Linked DNA regions of Homo sapiens: region 1 is linked to region 2. Evidence: promoter capture Hi-C in 16 types of primary human blood cells and fetal thymus (Javierre and others, 2016). All regions are on one chromosome and are shown on one strand. Each heading gives the region's core, a stretch centred on a gene start or on the middle of the fragment in contact. The rest is flanking DNA. Distances are from core to core; before and after follow the strand shown. Region 1 overlaps MBTD1 (mbt domain containing 1). Region 2 holds the start of SPAG9 (sperm associated antigen 9).

Region 1 (4,417 bases), core at 1,363-3,862, 130 kb after region 2:
CTCCCCAATACTGGTTCTGTCAGCTAGCCTCTGTAAGCATACAAAACAAGCATCAAATAAATATGTTTCAGGTAACGTGCCTTCATGAACATTTTGCTCTTCAAAATAAAACCGAGGCCAGGTGCAGTGGCTCACACCTGTAATCCTAGCACTTTGGGAGACCAAGGGTGGGTGGATTACTTGAGGAGTAATCCACCAGGAGTTCCAGACCAGCCTGGCCAATATGGTAAAACCCCATCTCTACTAAAAATACAAAAATCAGCCATGTGTGGTGGTGGCACCTGTAGTCCAGCTACCAGGGAGGCTGAGGCAGAAGAATCACTTGAACCCGGGAGGCGAAGGTTGCAGAGAGCCAAGATTGAGCTACTGCACTCCAGTCTGGGCGACAGAGTGAGACTCTGTCTCAAAAAAAAACAAAACAACAAAACAAAACCCCAAAAAACTGCAAATCATATTAGATGACTAAGGTCTTGAATGTAGGGAGATGGAATGATTGTAGGTAGGTAAACCTTGCTTTATATTTGGGTGTATGTTCTAACTCCCTGTCCACTATAAAGTCACTAATGTCTAAAATTCATATACTAAATAAATAATATAAGCCTAAGCTTTAGAATTAGAGAGATAGATACTAGATGAGAAAGCTAAAAGAATGAAAGCAGTTGTCTCATCAGAGCTGAATTGGGACAAGGACCATTTTTTTTGGAATACTTTTAGCATTGTTTAATTATTGTACTATCAAGTGCATGTATTACTTTGATAAAAATAAAAGCTAATTTATATGAAGTATACAGTACATTAAAAAATTAAGTTGGTATATATTGAGAGATTGATGATATCTGGTATCAGTAAATACATGTGGGAAAAACAGTGCTCATATACACTTGGTAGGAAGGTAACCTTACACTATCTTTCCGGAAGGCAATTTGACATTACATATGAAAACTTAAAATGGCTATGCCTTTTGACTAGGTAATTCCATTTTTAGGAATCTGTCCTTCAGAAATACTCATACATAATACATACAAGGACACAAGAACCTATGTAGAAGGATGTTTGCTAATGTAATAATAATGAAAAACTGGAGACAAACTTACAATCAGCAGGGGAATCATGAGCAACAGGTAAAATACTGAGTGGAAAAAATAAATCACAATATATAGTATAATAAAATATATCACAATATGACTCACTTTTTATTCAAAGAGACAATATACACTGGCATATACACAGATCAATATATGTATGTTTGTTTTTATGTGCACTAAGAAAGACCTTAGGAGTAGCTAAACTTTTAGCAGGGTAGAAGTGGCATGGGAAGATGAATCTAACTTTTCAATATTTTTCTTTTTTAAAACATTATAGGTGTACTTCTATAATAAAAAATAAAAGGTTTTTATAGTGACAAAATTAAAGAAGAGATCACAAATCACAACAGAACTTCATTGTCCTACTGTAACTGTCACTTAGGTAAACCATCCTCCCTATGAAATCTACAAGGGAATTAAAAAGCATAGTCATTAACTTATTGGTATAACCAAACAAAAGTTCCAACAAAACTAAACATCTCTGGGAGAAATGACAGAAAACACTTGAAATCTTAAATGCAGGTGTCAATAAACATGGAGCCAAGTAATATTAATAATAGTGTAATTTCAATATGAGTAAACTCACCAGATATGAATAAACTCATCAGAAGTCAACCAATTCTTCATTATCCAAACCCACTGGGAGCAGTGGCTCACATAATTTTCAAATTTTTATATTTAGCTATGGAGCAAATATTTTCTAGAATCTTAAATTTGAATGTTGTATGCATGAGATCACAAAGTAGTAAACAGAGATTAATACATACTCTACAATGACTGAACTTGGTAGGAGCTCAAGAGCTATTTAGCTCCTGCAGGCCTCTTTTTCATTCTATTATACTATGAGGATGAAAGCACATTCTGGTATAGTGATAAAACTCATCAGTGTAAAGAGAAATGCCTTCTTTCTTTCTAAGCTTACTGTTACGAGGAACATAAATGGTAAGGATTTGGGATTACTGAGTTTTTATTTCCCACAAATTCAATGTGCAAGCAAGAATAAATTCATGTCAATGATACAATCAAGAGGAAACCAAAAGCAATAATATTCTGAATAACCCATCTAAAGAAATGGAAAAGTACCCAGGAGAATGATAGGAGAGGACAATATTCTACATAGCAATATTTTAAGATTTAAAGCAACAGTGAACAAAAGGAAGTGATTCTTTGATCTACAAGAAATACAAATTTCTACCTCTTTGGGTTCAACTTCTAGACCTATCACTGTTATGACTTCGGATGTAACAATTACTTGGGTCTCAGTTTCCCTCTCTTCTAAATAAGAAAAACATCACTTACCACACAGGAAGGATGTATGATAAAATAAAAAAATTCACATGAATAGGCTTTCAGTTCTTCCGAAGAAAGCTATGAATCCTTAAGTACAAACCTGGAAAGCTAATTAAAAATAAGATGACCATATCAAAATTAAGTCTGAAACATGCAGTGGCCTAGAGATTCCCTGAGATCATTATCAGCTATCAATTCTACCCCAATAATAGAATTCATACTCAAGCTGGGTCTGTAGGGCGAATGTGGTCTGAATGATCAAACAAGATCATTTATTAGTATGTTAACATAGAGACGGGCCAGGCGCAGTGGCTCACGCCTGTAATCCCAGCACTTTGGGAGGCTGAGGCGGGCAGATCACAAGGTCAGGAGTTTGACACCAGCCTGGCCAATATGATGAAACCCCACCTCTACTAAAAATACAAAAATGAACTGGGTGTGGTGGCATTTGCCTGTAGTCCCAGCCACTCGGGAGGCTGAGGCAGAAGAATCACTTGAACCCGGGAGGCGGAGACTGCAGTGAGCCGAGCTCATGCCACTGCACTCCAGCCTGGGCAACAGAGCAAGACTCCATCTCAAAAAAAAAAAGAAAAGAGAAAGTAAATTCAACAGCTTATTCAGTATCATATTGATCTGATATAACCTAAAAACACTTGATCTGAAATGATAACATTCTCTTGGTGTTTACCTTTAAAAAATATATTTGGAACTGGTTGCTCAGAAGATATAAAATCACTGAACAATAGTAACTACAGGGTGTTAATAATTAAACAAAGATGGGTTAAACACATACAGATACACAAGGGGGCTACTTCTCTGGTGTATAAAATAATCTCTAGCAAATTTTAAAGCTTAGAAGTCTTAAAGTAATAGATGATGATAACCTTTTTTTTTTCCTTTTTTTTTTTTTGAGACGGAGTCTCACTCTGTCGCCCAGGCTGGAGTCCAGTGGCACAATCATGGCTCACTTCAACCTGGGTCTCCCACCAGACTCAAGCAATCCTCCCACCTCTGCCCCCGAGTAGCTGGGACTACAGGGGTGTGCCACCACACCTAATTTTTGTAATTTTTTTTTGTAGAGACAGGGTTTCGCCATGTTGCCCAGGCTGATCTTGAACTCCTGGGTTCAAGCAATCTGCCTGTCCTGGGCTCTCAAAGTATTGGGATTACAGGCGTTAGCCAACACACCTGGTTAATATTAACCAATATTTATTGAACGATATATACAAATCACTATGCTTAGCACCAGAAATACAAAGAAGTATTAGACTTAACATTCCTGTCCTACAATTAAGACTGCAAACGGTGGCCAAATAATTGGGCCACAACGTTGAACAAACTAATGAGTATTATATACAACCAGTTTTAAAAGACTAGTAGTAGGAATTAAACATAGTGAAAAAGGAAAAAGAAGGAAAGCCTGGGAACACATCTTAACATTTTATCTTATGACTTGTCTCATCTTTTATAGCAGCTTACTTTTTTTAAACAGCGGGCATAACATCTGAGTGGAGGTTTACAGAAACTACAGGAGGCAGGGCTGATGTTCACCCTGTATTTCAGATGAGGAAAGTGAAGCTTTCAAAGAGGTTACACAACTCACCTAAGATCGCAGTTCAGAGAGGTAGCTTGCTGACTTTGTCCAGAGCTCACTTCTACTAGACTAAATTCTAAATTATCAGTGCTAAAGTGAGAACTCGAAGGGACCTCAGAAATCTCCTAATGGAGTGTTTCCCTAACCAACCTGATAAACTTTCTGGGGTATACATTAAAAACACATTCCCAGGACCCACTGCAGACCTACTAAATAAGTTATAGGAGAGAAGTTTAGTATTTTAACAAGAGCCTCCAAGAAGTGATTATAATGATTAGTTATGCTTAGAAAACAGTGTTCTATGTGTGTATGTCCAGTATGCCAGACATTTGGCTACTTAAATTTACATTGCCTAAAACAGCAAAATTAAAAATTGAGTTCTTCAATTTTTAGTTCCACTAGTTACATTTCAAGTGCTCAACAACCACATGTGGCTAGTGGCTACCGT
Region 2 (4,006 bases), core at 337-2,836:
AAAATACTATGTCATTCCTTCAATAATTAGTTATTTCGCCTCCTTTGATCACCATGTATTTAAGCAGGTGTGCTAGGTGCTTGAGAAACAAAAATAGGACACATCACCTGCCTTTGATAAGGTCCACAGAAATAACGCCAACGCAGGCTGAAAGCTAAACTCCTTGTCAGTCTCAAGAAGCCAAGGACCTATCACTTGCACCCTAGAACTCCAAAAGGTTCACAGAGTCGAGGTGAGGGCGCCCAGGTCACTGCTCGGGTGCTAGAGTTAACAGGTGGCCAAATGCACGTATAAACAGCAGTCTAAGAAGGAAACTCAGACGGAAAAAGTGTTGCCAACTGTCACCTACATCTTCCCAACCCCGCCCCCCAATCCTTTTTATAAATAAACGGAGGGTTTTTGAAGGGAACTGTCCAAGGTTACAACCTGATACGGAGGAATGCTTTGGTTTGGGATACCAACGAAATTGTTTATATATTTATTGAGTACTGCCACACAACATCTAAAAGTTGACAAAGTGTCAACCAAGGCACATAGAACATAAAATAAGACGTCTTTCTCAACAAGATTAAAACGTCAAGAAGAAACTGACCGAAAGAGGGAGATCTCTAACTTCCCAAAGCAAGGCAACCCCCTGGAAAGGTACTGGAACTAGCGGAAGTTACATATCCAGGGCAGAAGTGTCCCCCTCCCCAAGGGTAAAACTTTGAACCGCCATCTGACTATCCCACGGTGGTCGGAAACTTCCCTCAACAAGAAGCAACCAGACACCCAACAATCTCCGCCCTTGGCCAACCCCAGGTGTCCTCAGGCCAGGCTGCCGCTTCCTCCCCGGGCCCTGCCTCCTCCATCTCGCTCCCTTCCCAGGACACTCAGTAGCCGGCCTCGGCTTCCAACGCCGGCCTGGCTCCCGGGGTACCTGGAGGCCGCCGGGATCGGTCCCAGGGGGCATCGGCCTCAGGCCCGCCCTCCAGGAGGCCCGTCGCGCCTCTAGTCCCCGACCGGGCCGCGACCCCGCCCCGGCCGCCCCCGGAGACGGATCCCGCGGCCCCCGCCCTGCCGCCGGCCTCACCTCCTCAGCGTGCTTGCGCAGCGCCTTCTCCCGCTCGTACTGGGTGATGAGCTGCTCGTTGTCGTCCCGCAGCAGCTCCAGCTCCACCTGGTGCTCCTGGTCCTGCGCGAACACCGAGTCCAGGTTCTCCAGCACAGCCACCACCAGCGGCATCAGCTCTTTGACCACCTCCTCGTCATAGCGCCCGATAAGCCGCTCGAACTCGCGGTAGATGGAGCCGGCCAGGCCGGACACCCGCTCCGACATCACGGCCCCGGAGCCGCCGGGCTCCTCCTGATACACCACACCGTCCTCCAGCTCCATGGTGGCAAGCGGACGGGCGGGCGGCCCGGGGCGTCGCCGGCAGAGGGGCGGCACCTGCCCGCACGGGACGGACCCGACTCGGGCTGGGACGGGTACTAGGGCTGGAGCCCGGGCCGGGGCTGGGGCTGGGCCCGGCGGGGTGGGGGCCGGGGCCGGAGGAGGGGAGGGGTGGCGTAGGCGCTCTCACCCCAACCGCCGCTGCACCAACTGCCGGGGCGGCCCGGCCGCGCGCGCCACACGTCATCCGCGGGGCGGGGCCGGCGCCGCGTCGGCCCGATGGGCGGGGCGCCGCGGGAGGCCAGGCGCGGCCGGGGGCGGGGCCAAGCGTCTTCGGGCGCTGGCGGAGGAAGCCATGGCGTCAACACCCGGCGCCGCGAAGACGGTGCGGGCGCCAATGGGAAAGACTGCGGTCGGCGGGTGGGGAGAAGTATCCATCCACAGCGGGATTCGCGGGGCGGGTCCCAGGGGAAAGGGAGGGGTTCGGGAAGAGTGACGAGTTAACTTAGCTGGCATTTCTATGGCTTTTTAAAGCTCACAAAGCACCTACTCACTTCATCCCCACAACAGGCGTAAAGAGGTAGATATTTGGACCTCGTTTCACAGACAAAGAAACTAGGCCCAGGAAAGTGGCGTTGCTCTCAAGGTCACGCAGCTACAACGGGAAACGGGCTGAGCCGGGACTCAAACCAATTACCCAGATTGAGAATTCCGGGCTCCGAAAAAAACTGGAAACAGAAAGGGAGGGAAAAAAAACCATAACCAGGGTCTGCCCAAGTGGAAAGGTGGTCTCGAATAGAATAGAACTGTTTTGTGCTATGGAAGAGCAAGGGTGAGATGAGGGGAAATGGGAGTGACTGCTAATAGGTATGGGATTTCGTTTTGGGATAATAAAAATGTTCTAAAAAATGTATTATAGTGATGAATACACAACTCTAAATATGCTAAAAGACATTCAACTTTACACGTTAAGTGAGTGAATCATATGGCGTGTGAATTATATCTCAAGTTATTAAAAAATAAACAGGAAGGGTGATAGCATTCTGGAGAAGGGTGAAACTGGAACGTTACATGTGGCACTTTCCCACATAGTGTGTCTGCTACTTCTGGCCAACTTGGGACGGGGACATTTCCAGGCTCCAGCCACCCTCCTCTCCTCAAGTCTTGAAGTGGGGCGGAAAGGGTAAGTGGGAGGTTGGGGAACAGAGGAGGTAAGGGGTGGAGTCACTGGAGTGAATAAGTCCCATGACAAGTGAGGTTTCTGCCGCCTGGGAGAGTGTCACGTGTGGGGAATGACACAACGCCCACGCCTAGAGCGGGCTGAGTCAAGGATCCCGGTGTGCTCATCTAACGTCCGCAAATGGGACGGAAGACACTCTCAAAAGTCCCTTCTCTGTGTCTCAGGTGACTCAGCTCTCCGTCCCGACTCGTTTAAGAAAAGGGGGAGGAAAGGCAGGATAAACATAGGTTTAAGGGGAGAATTGGCCACCCACCGGGATCATAACTACCCTTAGCTTGGGGTTTACAAGTTTAAGTACTTCCCACCAAGTATGAAGTAGTCCCCTAAAGTTTCCTACGCATGACCCACCTGGAGACCCATAAAAACAATATGAAGGTTGGGCAAGAGTAAACCTATAAATTTGGAAGGACAAAGATGAAAATACTAAGTCTTATGAAGTGCCAGATGGGACTGAATTTGCGGCCTGTGTTTTTTCCCGTTCTCACCCTCACCCCACATTCACCCTTATGTCATTTAGATATTTGGGTAGTAGGAATGCCGACCAGCTGGTTGGCTGTGAGCCGCAAATGCCCTTTCTCTTCTTAACCTTTCATATTTGAAAACTAGAAAAAGTCTTGATCTGAATCTCTCCTCTTTTATTTTCTCTTCCTGAGGGCTGTCACTCACCTGGTCTACCTATATGCATGCCTCTCTTTTCCTGGGGGATCAGAAGAGCCAAAAAACATAGGGCAAGGCTTTACTTTTTCTTTCCACAATATTATCATACACATCAAAAAATTTAAAGAAAAAAGTATCAGCCGGGCGTGGTGACTCATGCCTGTAACCCAGCACTTTGGGAGGCCGAGGCGGGTGGATCACAAGGTCAGGAGTTCAAGACCAGCCTGAACAATATGGTGAAACCCCATTTCTACTAAAAAGTACAAAAATTAGTCGGGCATGGTGGTGCACACCTATAATCCCAGCTACTCAAGAGGCTGAGGCAGGAGAATAGCTTGAACCTGGGAGGCGGAGGTTGCAGTGAGCAGAGATCACACCATTGCACTCCAGCCTGGGCGACAGAGTGAGACTCCATCTCAAAAAAAAAAAGAAAAAAGAAAAAAGTATCGATTTTTCAAGTACGAGATTTTAATTGTCATTCCTAATAAGTATACTTCTTTAGGTATACGTTCAACATAGAAAGATACACACTTATGTCTTGATTTTAAGCTTCTGCCAGTTATCAGAGATAACATTTAGTTAAAATAAAATTCAGCTAAATAACCATCAGCTGATGAATGGATAAAATGTGACATAGGTATACAATGGACTATTATTTGGCAATAAAAAGAAAGTCGTTGGAGGGGAGGGGAGTAGGCGTGGTGGCTCGCGCCTGTAATCTCAGCACTTGCAAGAGG

The links. The method cuts DNA at HindIII sites, captures the fragments that hold promoters and counts their contacts. A CHiCAGO score of 5 or more calls a contact.
Region 1: a fragment that was not itself captured here is called in contact with the fragment with the promoter of SPAG9 in region 2 in 1 of 17 cell types (fetal thymus); the score reaches 5.1 in fetal thymus.

The regions. Positions count from the first base shown.
Region 1 is chr17:51,252,329-51,256,745 of GRCh38, forward strand. The region is part of intron 2 of MBTD1 (mbt domain containing 1); the gene reads right to left. Among named protein-coding and RNA genes, the nearest start is that of MBTD1, 5.5 kb to the right of the region's middle. The HindIII fragment of the contact is 1,224 bases long and covers 2,001-3,224 here.
Region 2 is chr17:51,119,282-51,123,287 of GRCh38, forward strand. SPAG9 (sperm associated antigen 9) reads right to left here and starts at 1,587. Exons shown (of 30, transcript NM_001130528.3): 1 at 1,073-1,587. The coding sequence starts at 1,375. RefSeq lists silencers at 840-969, 990-1,069, 1,320-1,699 and enhancers at 1,100-1,219, 1,509-2,323, 1,840-2,069, 2,679-2,938. The HindIII fragment of the contact is 3,961 bases long and covers 1-3,816 here.